Regions from separate parts of the Homo sapiens genome. Here region 2 is linked to region 1. Evidence: promoter capture Hi-C in human tissues and cell types (Jung and others, 2019). All regions are on one chromosome and are shown on one strand. The core of a region is centred on a gene start or on the middle of the fragment in contact, and the rest is flanking DNA. Distances in the headings are between cores, read along the strand shown.

Region 1 (6,843 bases), core at 2,090-4,589:
CCTCTCTTTTTGGGGGAACATGGCGCCCTTATTGTGGGGCTCTCTCTTCTCCTCTCCTCATTTCCAGTCTGGTGAGCTTTCTTCTGTGTTGCTCAACAAAGCTACCCATCACTTTCAACCGGGTGACACTCTAAGGATGATAACTAGAGTTGGGAGTGAAACATGGGTCTCCAGACCCCCGTCCTACTGTTTCTTTCATTTATTCCCAAGAACCCTCAACCTTGGTCTGCAGACCATTTTAATAGGATGAGAGACCTAGGAAGTGAATGATTCCATCTACTGGTCCTGTCCTTCTTCTCCTCTGGGGCATCTCAAAATCACTCAGATACCCCAGAATCACTCAGCTATTCCACCTGCCCTAGTCCTCCCTGTCTTCTTCCAGAGAGCCAGCCCCCAGGGACACAGGTGCAGGGCCGGGACTGGGAGAGGCAAGCAAGGGGACTAGAGCTCAGGATTTAAAGGGGCACTCACTCTTAAAGTTGTGGAGTGCCTCCTTGAAATCTGTGCTCTGGTTGCCTCATTGGCCTCATCTAGTCCTGGCTTTGTGCAGGCAGGTGTCTCCATAAAGGGATAGGAGGAGACCAAGAGGTTAAGAGGAGAGTAGAAAAGAGAGTACTAAGAGGACAAGGTGGGACATCCAAAGTCAATGGCACTACTCAGGAGGCTGAGGCAGGAGGATGGCTTGAGCCCAGGAGTTGGAGGCTGTAGTGAGCTATGGTGGCCTGTGAATAGCCATTGCACTCCAGCCTGGGCAACATAGTGAAACACTGTCTCTAAGAATAACAACAACAACAAACAAAGCCAATAGCAAAGTGAAGAGCAATGACTGAAGACAGGTTCAGAACAAGCATCCCCACACATGCTCTCTGTCTCACACACCCTGGACCTGCCAGACAGATACCATCCAGAGAACAGTGAACAAAGGAAAGATCAAATACACTCATCACATTCTCATTAGGAGGACCTAATGGGAATGTGGTCCTGGGGAGGGGGTGTAGAGATAGGGTAGGATCCCCAAAACCACATCATCTTTGTTCTTTCACCATCCTCAGACTTGACGTCTTTTGCTCGATGTCATGAAACTCACCCTAGACATGGTGATTCAGACTCCGTGCTGGAAGAGCCACCAGGGACAACTAGTCCTCACTATCCAGTGTGGTAGCCACAAGCCACACACACTTTTTGAGCAATGGAAATGTGGCTGGTCCACACTGACAGGTGCTTTAAATATAAAAGACACACTGGGTTTTTGAGGATATAGTTGGAAACCAAAGAAGTAAAATAGCCCCTTAATATTTTTAAAAATATTGATTACATGTTGAAATGATCATATTTGGGATCATATTTGGGTAAAAAATATACAGTGTTATTAAAATTAATTTTCCTGTTTCTTTGTACTTCTTTTAATGTGGCTAGAAATTTAACATGACATATGTGGGCCAGGTGTGGTGGCTCCCACCTGTAATCCTAGCACTTTGGAAGGCCAAGGCTGGAGGATGGCATGAACCCAGGAGTTTGAGACCAGCATGTGCAACACAGCGAGACCTTGTCTCTATAAATAATAAAAAGAATTACTTGGGAGGCTGAGGCGGGAAGACTGCTTGAGCCTGGGAGGTAAAGGCTTACAGTGAGCCATGATGGTATCACTGCACCCCAGCCTGGGTGACAAAGTGAGAGTGTCTCAAACAAGAAACAAACAAAAAAATTAGCCAGGTGTGGTAATGCACACATGTGGTCCTGGGTGCTTGGGAGGCTGAGGTGGAAGGATAGCTTGAGCCTGGGTGATTGAGGCTGCAGTGAGCCGATTGTGCCATTGTACTCCAGCCTGGGTGACGGCGAGACCTTGTCTAAAAAAGAAAAAACACACAAAAAATAAAAAACAAATGTGGCTTATGTTTGTGGCTTGAATTATAGTTCTATTGTACAATGGTAGTCTAGTTCAACTTCTTGAACAGACGAGAACGCTGGGGTCCGGAGAGAAGCCCTGACTTAGCGGATGGCACACACTATAAAGCACTGTCATTTGCAGTCCCACCAGTCTCTCAGTACCCACCCCCACTCTGCCACACACACCCCTGGGAGTCTTAGGTGTGAAATGGGTGGACTCACAGACCCCTGGGCTGCATACCTCAAAGTGTTCCAACACTCAAGGCACTGCCTGTGGTTTTTTGGGAGTGAAATAAAAACCTAACAATGGTGGGGTCACAGTCTCCAGTAGGTCACATTTTAAAAGCACTTTAGGCTCTGGAGACTTGGGGTGTGGGGAGAAGTGAAGAGAAAGCTGGGGAGCCCTGGGCCTTCCCCCATTTCTTCATATGCAGAATAATCCAGATTAGTTTACCAAGCGCGCTGATAACCACTTTAAAAACAGAGTCCCTCCTGCCTCCCCGTGGCATGGGGTAGAACCTGGCTTGAGCCCCGACACAGGCGGGCAGCCACTCCAGGATCGTTCCACACGTAAACAAAGACGAGTTTCGGTCCGATTGGCTTGATCCTGGAAGAGGAGTGGGCAGTGGAGGGAGGGGAAACCAGGCACCAAAGCAAATTCCTTCATTTCATAATTTCATCTGGCGCCCCCGTTCAATCAGCCTGCATTGTCGAGGCTTTAGGAGAGGCAGTTAGGAAAGGAGAGATACTGATCTCTCAGCCCCAGGGCAGCACTAATGGTGCCTGTCTAGACTCTGACAGGTGGAGCTGCTGAGCTAACTACGGACCTGGTGGGGGAAGTTTTCCTTGGCTTTCACGTGGCTTTGGCTGGGGAGCCCTGAGAAGGTGGCTGCCTCCTTTTTCTGAAGCCTGGCTTCCCATACGGCAGTGGCTGGGGGAGAGTGATGGAGAGAAAGGCTAAGCTAAGGTCAAAGAAAGTGGAGGAAGGCTGGCTTGTCCCGCTGGACTTGACGGCGGAGCTGCTGCAATCTCGCGGGCTGGGCCCTTGCCCCGGGTGGACCCGAGTGCCTGCGGGGAGGCGGGTGTGGCTCCCCCGGGAGGTGACAGCTGGCGGGGCCCGTAAGGAGCTGGTCTGCTCCGGCTCCCCTCTCGTAGCCGGCGCCCTGGGACCAGCGCGTGAGCACGTCTCGGAGGAGTCCGATGCGCTGGGCAGGGCCGGGTGGTCACCCCCGCCCAGCTTCCAGGGGTGACTGTGCCTCTGACGTCAGACGGTTTTTGGGTCATTCCCTGGCACGGGGACTTTATTTTCATAACAGCATGAAGTGCCGTGGAACTGGAATAGGCGTGTCCTCTCCCTCGACCCTCCCCCTCCTTGTCCCTCTGCTCACCCCTCGCTCGTTCCCTCCCTCCGGCGAGGGCCGCCTTTATAACAACTGCTCAGAGTGCGAGGGCGGGATAGCTGTCCAAGGTCTCCCCCAGCACTGAGGAGCTCGCCTGCTGCCCTCTTGCGCGCGGGAAGCAGCACCAAGTTCACGGCCAACGCCTTGGCACTAGGGTAAGTGAGGCGCCAGGAGCCCAGAGCGCTGGGGCCTCCGGATTTAAATCGTCTGGGGAGAGCGGGGCGTTGGGAGGGGTGGGATAGAAGAGGAGAGAAATCCTGGTAATGGAATACAGTTGGCTATGAGAAAAAAATTCCCTAGGAAACAGTTCCTCTAGTTTAACAACTCAGATTTTTTTTTTTTTTTTTCCCCTTTGCGGGTTTCCTAGGCTAAGATAGAGGCAGAGAGCAAAGAGATAATCAGGGTAATAGTTTCTGCTCGGACACATTCTACAAACTTTGAGTAGATGGAATCCGGCCAGGCAGGAGGTGAGCAGCTCTGGGATCACTCTGCAGGAAAAGAATAGAGGGAGAAAGATCTCAGAGGACCCGAAGGTACTGGGAGTGGAGGGGGAGTGGGAAACAAGGGGCAGGGGCAGGAGGGAGGACACGGTGACAGCTACTATTTTACCCAGATGCTGCAAAAAGCCCTTCTGAGTTTTGGGAATTAGATCTAGAAGCCCATCCCTTTTCTCTTGATGTGTGGGCGGTCAGTTCCACTCTGGTGTGCCTTGAGTTGCTCAGAAACCTGGGACAGATGAAAGTTGAATGTGCGCTGAGAGTGCACCTTCCACTACCGACTTTATGGATAGGATTTGGGAATAGCATAGATGCTGTTCCATCTGGTCCCTTAAACATCCATGGGGAAGGCTGGCAAATAGCTTTATTTTATTTTTTGAGATGGAGTTTCACTCTTGTTGCCCAGGCTGGAGTACAATGTTGCGATCTCAGCTCACCGCGACCTCCACCTCCCGGGTTCAAGCGATTCTCCTGCCTCAGACTCCCGAGTAGCTGGGATTACAGGCATGCACCACCACTCCTGGTTAATTTTGTATTTTTAGTAGAGACGGGGTTTCCCCATGTTGGTCAGGTTGGTCTCAAACTCCCGACCTAAGGTGATCTGCCCGCCTCAGCCTCCCAAAGTGCTGGGATTACAGGTGTGAGCCCCCGCGCCCGGCCACAGATAGCTTTAAACATCCATGGGAAAGGCTAGCTAACAGCTGAAACCTGCTCAGAATCAAGGAATTTGAAGGACTTTCCATTCCTGACTTCTTTCCATTCCTGATTGTCTCCTCAGAGGCTTGTGTAAACACCACACCTGTTGAAGGGTTCGGCCGAATCAGCCACTGCTGTGGGTTCATTCCTGAAGGGGAACACTTCAGCTACTTCAGACACAATGGGCTAGGGACCACGGGAGGGGTGAGGGCGGAGGGGGCACACACCCTCCAGGTTTGCATGCCGGTGTCTGCTAGGTGAGGGAAGGAATGAGGGGAAGGAAGGGCCGGGAGAGGCGCTACGTGGGAAACAAGGGACCTCTCCAAGGGCGTGGAGAGGTGAGTGCCTCAAGGGCAGAATGGAATGAGCAGAACCCTTTGGTTTCCCGGGAAGAGCTCTCAACCTTGAGTCAGGAAGACTGATTTCTCCTCCCAGCTCCGCAGGAACATGGAACTGTGATCAGGCAAGGGGCTGGGCCTGAGTTCCTCATAGGGGTCTTGGGGAGGCCCCCAGTTTCCCCTCCTGTGTTTCGATTCTGGCCCCTCTCCATCTGCACACGTCGCCTTGGAAGTTCCCTTTAGAACTGGCTTTTTTGTATTCTAGTCTTGAATGGTAATCGAAGACAACAGGGTATGAAGAACAATTTTGACGGCGTGATTTTATTCTTCTCATTCTGGGTCCACTACTATTTAAAGTCCCAAGATTAAGCTGAGGAATTAATATGGTGGTATAGTAAACAATAAATTGAGGAGTATTTTTGCTTGAGGAATCTTTGACTTCCTGAGTAGTTCAGGGTGTTTGCTTCTTTTATTCTCATTTTTATTGCACTGTGGTCAGACTATATGGTCTGCACATTTCTTATTTTCTAATTCCAGATTTGTCTTTGTATTCTAAATATGCTCATTTTTGGCAAATGTTCCATTTGGACCATGGACCATAGTTCCTATTAAGCAATCATAATAGAGTAGAGATGGCAAACTATGGTCCATGGACCAAATATGGCCTATAGCCTCTTTCTGTAAATAAAGTGATTTTTGTTTTGTTTTGTTTTGTTTTTGTTTTCGTTTTTTTGAGATGGAGTCTCGCTCTTGCCCAGGCTGGAGCGCAGTGACGTGATCTCGGCTCACTGAAACCTCTGCCTCCCGGTTTCAAGGTTTCAAGCCATTCTCCTGCCTCAGGCTCCCAAGTAGCTGGGATTACAGGCGCCCGCTACCACGCCTGGGTAATTTTTGTATTTTTAGTAGAGACAGGGTTTCACCATGTTGGCCAGACTGGTCTCAAACTCCTGACCTCAGGTGATCTGCCTGCCTCGGCCTCCCAAAGTGCTGGGATCATAGGCATGAGCCACAACCTGTAATCCACTATTTTACTAAAACACAGCAATGCTCATATGTTTATGTATCATCTATGCTGCTTTCATGCTACAAATGTGTGGCTTGCAGAGTCTTAAATTGCTTATAACCTGGCCCTTTATAGAAAATCTATGCTGATCACTGATATAGAGGATCTGAATTATATGATTAGTAATGGAGATCTAATAAGATATGAAGATAGAGAATATTTCTATTTAAGTATCCATAGAACATTTACACAATTTTACCATGTTCTTATTCATATTGTATATTTTATCTGCCAAGGACTGGTAAAGAAGTATGAAAGTCTCATGCAACTATAGTATTGCCTTTGGGTTCTCCTTGTATTTTCAGCAGTTATTTATTTATTTTGAGACAGGGTCTTGCTCTGTTGCCCTGGCTGGAGTGCAGTGGCACAATCTTGGCTGACTGTAACCTCCACCTCCCAAGCTCAAGTGATCCTCTTGCCTCAGACTCTTGAGTAGCTGGGTCTACAGGCACCCACCACTACACCTGGCTAATTTTTAAATTTTTTGTAGAGATGGGGTTTTGCCATGTAGCCTAGGCTTGACTCAAACTCCTGGGCTCAAGCAATCTTCCTGCCTTCACTTCCCAAAGTGCTGGGATTATAGGTGTAAGCCTCTGTACCCAGCCTTCAGTACTTTTTGTTTTACGTATTTTGGTGCTATATTAGTTGGTGCATAAAAGTCTAGGATGGTTTTTTTTTTTTTTTTTTTTTTTTGAGACAGAGTCTCGCTCTGTCACCCAGGCTGGGGTGCAGTGGTGCGATCACGGCTCACTGCAAGCTCTGCCTCCCGGGTTCACGCCATTCTCCTGCCTCAGCCTCTTGAGTAGCTGGGACTACAGGTGCCCGCCACCATGCCCGGCTAATTTTTTGTATTTTTAGCAGAGACAGGGTTTCACCGTGTTAGCCAGGATGGTCTTGATCTCCTGACCTCGTGATCTGCCCGCCTCAGCCTCCCAAAGTGCTGGGATTACAGGCGTGAGCCA
Region 2 (6,097 bases), core at 2,857-5,356, 34 kb after region 1:
GTTATGAAGCAGAGAATTGTCTTGTAACACACAACTACCAATGACATCCAATAATAACACTTATTAAAAGGTGAGGACACATCCTCCAGCTCTGCTGGGGACAATGTGGGGAATTCTGTCTGGAGCAAGGCCTTCGATAAGCTTGAGGCAGCTTGTAACTCTTAGCGTTTAGACTTTCACTGGCTGAGTTGTTATTCTTCATATTTGAATCTAAGAGCCATGGAGAGTTCTTAGATTGTTAGTTTTCCTGGACAGTTTTCTTTCCCTATACCTCCAACCCAAACACTTCCTTTGCCCTTCAGGTGAAAATGGAAATGCTCTTCACTCTTGGGATGGGCCCTCACCTTTTAGTAAGTGTTATGGTTGGGTGTCGATTAAAATTAAGGGGGCTGTGTGTTGCAGGACTACTCCCTTGTTCAGAGCCTTGCTTTAGAATGGGAGCTGCCACGGGAACAGAGCTCATGCTATGTTAATATGACTTTATTGCGGACACGGTGATGATCTAAAATCCTTTGCAAAGGCACTTGAATTTTGTAAACACCACTGTGTTCTCCCACTCCAGATACATGTAGTCAATGTCTGAACTATTGCTTGATTTCGTTCTTTAGACAAAAACTACTGTCTTTTTAAGAAAAAAAAAAAAAAAAAAAAAAAAAAACAAAAAAACAAAAAACTACTCCACGTTGTCTTTGAGGGTGATTAATTGCATAAGAAAGAACCCCATGATTCGTGTTACTCAGCAGAATCAAAAAGGCTTGTGCATTGTACTTGGGTAGCATGAGTTTAGTCATCTGAATCACAAACCCATGACCTCTGGATACTTGGGAGCCAGAATGAGGGCCCAAGGGAGCATCTGACTGTACTGAATTAGAGGGAGGCAGAGGAAGGGGTGGGGTGCCAGGGCTTCCTTGGGAAGAAAGCGTCAGAGTGAGGGTGAGGGGATGGGGAGTGAGAGCCGATAAGTAGGAGGAAGAGTTGTAAAATCAGAGGCCTGGCAAAGTAATGAAGATAAAAGAATGTTACACTAAAGTTAAAATTAAGGACTTAAGAATCAGGAATTTGGCCGGGTGCAGTGGCTCGTACCTGTAATGCCAGCACTGTGGGAGGCCGAGGCGGGCAGATCACGAGGTCAGGAGTTCGAGACCAACCTGACCAACATGGTGAAACCTTGTCTCTATTAAAAATACAAAAAATTAGCCAGGCGTGGTGGCATGCGCCTGGAATCCCAGCTACTCAGGAGGCTCAGGCAGGAGAATCACTTGAACCAGGGAGGTGGAGGTTGCAGTGAGCTGAGATCATGCCATTGCACTCCATCCAGCCTGGGTGACAGAGCAAGACTCCATCTCAAAAAAAAAAAAAAAAAAAAAAGAGAATCAGGAATTCAGGAAAATATTGTTACAATTCCCAAAGGGTCAGACCTGTGTGTGAAATTGGGCAGATGGGTTTGACCTCATCATAGAACGTCATTCCAGTTTTTCCTCTACGTTTCTAGAACGCCCTGGCTTCATGAAAGACGGGGGACAAGGTGAGGAGGAGCAGCCTGCTAAATGCACAGAACCCGGCATGCTCAGAGATGGTTCTTTTGATTATGTTGGCCGTCCCCTCCCCGCCCCCAAGGCCCTGGCCAAGTCCTCTGTCCTTTCCTTTCTCTGACAAACCTGGCGGCAGTGCCAGAAACAATGAATTGATGAATTGGTACCTGTATATTTTTCCCAGATCATCAGGGCTACAGTCTGCATGCATGGGTGTTGCATTTAACTTTAAAAGAAAACTAGAGTTTAGAAAGAAAAATGGCTGTTTATATATTCTGCATAATGGAGAGGTTTCCTTCCTTCCTTCCTTCCCTCCTTCCCTCCCTCCCTCCTTCCTTCCTTCCCTCCCTCCCTCCCTCCTTCTTTTCTTCTCTTTTCTTTTCTTTCTTGACGGAGTCTCGCTTTGTTGCCCAGGCTGGAGTGCAGTGGCGCGATCTGGGCTCACTGCAAGCTCCGCCTCCTGGGTTCACACCATTCTCCCGCCTCAGCCTCCCAAGTAGCTGGGACTACAGGCGCCTGCCACCACGCCCGGCTAACTTTTGGTACTTTTAGTACAGATGGGGTTTCACCGCATTAGCGAGCTTGGTCCCAATCTCCTGACCTTGTGATCCGCCCGCCTCGGCCTCCCAAAGTGCTGGGATTACAGGCATGAGCCACCGTGCCCGGCCTCTCTTCTCTTTCCTTTTCTTTCTCTCTTTCTCTCTTTCTTTCTCTCTTTCTCTCTTTCTTTCTCTCTCTTTCTCTCTTTCTCTTTCTTTCTTTTCTTTTCTTTCCTTCCTTCCTTCCTTCCTTCCTTCCTTCCTTCCTTCCTTTTCTTTCTTCCCTCCCTCCTTCCTTCCTTCCTTCCTTCCTTCCTTTCCTTCCTTCCTTCCTTCCTTCCTTCCTTCCTTCCTTCCTTCCTTCCTTCTTTCTTTTTCTTTCTTTCTTTCTTTCTTTCTTTCTTTCTTTCTTTCTTTCTTTCTTTCTTTCTTTCTTTCTTTCTTTCTTTCTTCTTTTTCTTTCTTTTCTTTCTTGTCTTGCCCTGTCACCCAGGCTGGGCAATCTACCTGCCCTAGGCTTCTGAGTAACTTGGACTACAGGTGTGCACCATCACACCTAGCTTTTTTTGATTTTTTATAGAGATGGCGGGGGTGGGGGGGCTCTCTCTATGTTGCCCAGGCTGGTCTTGAACTCCCAAGCTCAAGCAGTCCTTCTGCCTTGGCCTCCCAAAGTGCTGAGATTACAGGTGTCAGTCACCATGGCTGGCTGTGGAGAAGCTTTCATGCTCCCCAGACATCTTCTTCAGTAGTCTGTGAGAATCTCAGAAATTCCTGGTATGTGTGGGGTACCGGCTGGTGGCTGTGTGTACAGACACACCCACACATCCACCCACATCCATGTCCACTCCTGTATACACCAATTGGCCGTAAGCCTAAGGTATGGAGAGTCATTTCTACACGTGAGATGAAACCAGTGCCCTTGCCTCCTATCACCGTATGTGTATGTGCACACTGTCATGCCAAATAAAACACATTTCCATTCAAGGCAGTAGCAAAACAGGGTTGCCGATTGTGTGGCTGAAAAGCAGTGCATGTCACCAACTGTCCCTAACTCACGGTGAGTGATCCATCCCTGTGACCTTGATTTTCACGATCTTTCATTTTTATTTACCTTTTATCTTTTGTAGAGATGGGTTCTCACTATGTTGCCCAGGCTGATCTTGAACTCCTGGGATCGAGCAGTCATCCCTCCTCGGCCTCCCAAGTAGCTGGGACTACAAGCTGGCCCAGATATAAGCAGGCAGTTTTTAATTTTTTTTATTATTATTTTTTGAAACGAACTCTCTATTGCCCAGGCTGGAGTGCAGTGGCGCGATCTCAGCTCACTGCAACCTCCACCTCCCAGGTTCAAGAGATTCTCTTGCCTCAGCCTCCCGAGTAGCTGGGATTACAGCTACTTGGCTGTACACCATGCCCGGCTAATTTTGTATTTTTAGTAGAGACGGGGTTTCACTATGTTGGCCAGGCTGATCTCCAACTCTTGATCTGCTCACTTCAGCCTCCCAAAGTGCTGGGATTACAGGCGTGAGCCACCGTGCCCGGCTAGAGCAGGCAGTTTAATGCTGGGCTCCCATAGTGGTAAGTCTTCAGGGTACTGAAATTTCGAATTTAGATTTATTTGTTGGTTTGTGTGTTTTTCTCTATTATATAGGCTTTAGAAGGACAGAAATTTGTTCTGTTTTTCTCAGTATTCCCTGAGCCTAGGACAGTGCCTGTACACATGGGTAAAATGAATAAACTTTTTGGGAGAAGGGTATTTTTTTTTCTTTTGTCACAGGCTAATTAGAATGATGTCCTTTCACTCAGAGAACACAGCCCTCAGGTTCTTCTCTTGTCTATTCTGGTGTCTTGAATGCCAATTTGTCTTCAAATAATTTTGATGAATTTCAGCTGATCAACCATCAGATTTTTGTGTGTGTTTCCATATAAGAACACTTAAATCCAGTGTGATAAAAGCAACTTACAAGCCCGAGGCTTGGAAGAAAGGAAAGGAATTTTTTACTTCTTGGGCTGAATACATTTCATCACATCCCAATTTATTTCCCTGAGGCTTTTCTTTGTCAAGCTTGGGAAAGTGCTGTTTCCTAGGAGAACCACACAAGAACAAACTTTAAATATGAGAAAAGAGAAAAGCACACCCCAAAGCAAAACAAAACAAAAAAAACCCCCAAAAACAATAAGAGAAGCATTTTAGATGGATTTTCTCCAAAGATCGATTGCATTGTGTTCCAAACGCATTTCTTTTCTTTCTTTTTTAAATTTTTTTTGAGATGAAGTTTCACTCTGTTACGCAGGCTGAGGTGCAGTGGCATGATCTTGGCTGACTGCAACCTCCACCTCCTGGGTTCAAGTGATTCTCCCGCCTCAGCTTTTCAAGTAGCTTCAGGTGCCCACCACCATGCCTGGCTAATTTTGTATTTTTAGTAGAGATGGGGTTTCACCACGTTGGCTAGGCTGGTCTCAAACTCCTGACCTCAAGTGATCCACCCGCCTCAGCCTCCCAAAGTGCTGGGATTACAGGCGTGAGTCACTGTGCCCAGTGTAAAGTGCATTTCTTTTCTAAACTGACTTGAACCAAAATGGATGAACAAGGACCCTTCAGATGATATACACCAAACTGGAAACAGATGAGAATGCCAGCAAATGGGCTCAGGAGGAATTTATCTTCTTGAATTTTCAGGCATAAGCTGATTTTGACAATGTTTTCTCTTACAAAAACAGGGTGAGCGTGTTCTGGATGGAGGCTGGGTGGGAACCCCAGGTCAGAGCAGATGTGGAACTGGGGCATGGGGAAGACTATACCCCAAAGAGGTGGGGGTGGGGAAGAAGATGAAAAGTGAAAGACGAATGTTCCCAGGGGCAGGAATTCATAAACTTTTTCCATTGATTCTGCCCTCTCAAGCCAATCACTTTCTGCCTTTTTGGACCAAATTGGGAAAGCCTGGACAGTCTGCTACAAACCAGACCAGAGCCTTTCCTTGTCAACAGAGCAGCGCTTCCTAAACTTATACTGCGTTAAAAATCACATGGGAATTTGTTAAAAATGCAGTGTCTGGAGGCCTCCTAGAGGTTCTGATTTAGTTGGTCTGAGTCAGGGTCCAAGAATTTGTATCCAGAGCAAGTATCCCGGCGATTCTTCTGCTTGGACAGGGTTGGGACAAGGCGTCGGCCAGTCATCCACATTGTCTTTTTGCAGATCCACTAATCTTCCATGCAGGCTCCAACAGCTCCTTCCCGGCCTGGGAACCCAAATCCGCAGGAAGAATCTCGGGGTGTTGTCTTGGCTTATTCATTCAGAGCTGTCGTGTGTGGTTCTGCAAACAGTACTCAGATGCGTTCCCTCTCCCCGTAGGGATCTTGCTGGAGATGCCCAGGGTTAACAGTGGAACTCCATATGGAGACAGAGGCATGGGGGGAGCTTCGCTGGAGATGGGACAGCCTGCTCCACCGCGAAGCCTACTGAGGCTCTCTTCTTACGTACCCCGCGCAATCTCATCTCCCTGAACAACTTCCACCTCCACCTTTCAGCTCATTCCCTAATGTCTGCTTCTGTTGGAACTCCACAATCTCATCTTTATCTGCCTAGGTGTGTTACAGTAGGTAGCTGTCAGGTATGAGCAGGGCAGGAGAGGGTCTGTTCCAATAGCAGGAACCTCAGGTGACCATCAGGTGATGGTCAGGCGGCTGTTAGTCTGTCGCTCTAAAATAATAATTGGTCGCAGCCGGTGCTAGGGAAAGACAGGCTCCCAGTAGATAGAAAACACCTGAAACGGGTGATAAGCAGCTTCCCGGTAAGATCTTAGCAGTTGGGCGAGTGTACTCAAGCATGAGCACTAACAGGCAGAATGCCAGAGTTTAACTGGTATATGACCTTCTAGGGACATTCGACTGATAAGGGAAGAACGCCTCACGTGAGCATGTGTACAACTCCTGCATGCGTACAAACACACTGCGCATGCTCCCCTCCCAGGCGCTGGCAGGCCACACACTGCGCATGCTCCCCTCCCAGGTGCCGGCAGGCCACAC

What was found. The method cuts DNA at HindIII sites, captures the fragments that hold promoters and counts their contacts. A contact is called where the count stands out against the background at its distance.
Region 2: a contact is called between a fragment that was not itself captured here and the fragment with the promoter of GPRC5A in region 1, in 1 of the 25 tissues and cell types used here (aorta).

What each region holds. Positions count from the first base shown.
Region 1 is chr12:12,888,223-12,895,065 of GRCh38, forward strand. It overlaps GPRC5A (G protein-coupled receptor class C group 5 member A), which reads left to right and starts at 3,340. Exons shown (of 4, transcript NM_003979.4): 1 at 3,340-3,442. The HindIII fragment of the contact is 16,829 bases long and covers 1-6,843 here.
Region 2 is chr12:12,921,507-12,927,603 of GRCh38, forward strand. No RefSeq gene overlaps it. Among named protein-coding and RNA genes, the nearest start is that of GPRC5D-AS1, 3.2 kb to the right of the region's middle. RefSeq lists cis regulatory regions at 682-769, 762 and an enhancer at 690-834. The HindIII fragment of the contact is 5,285 bases long and covers 1,465-6,097 here.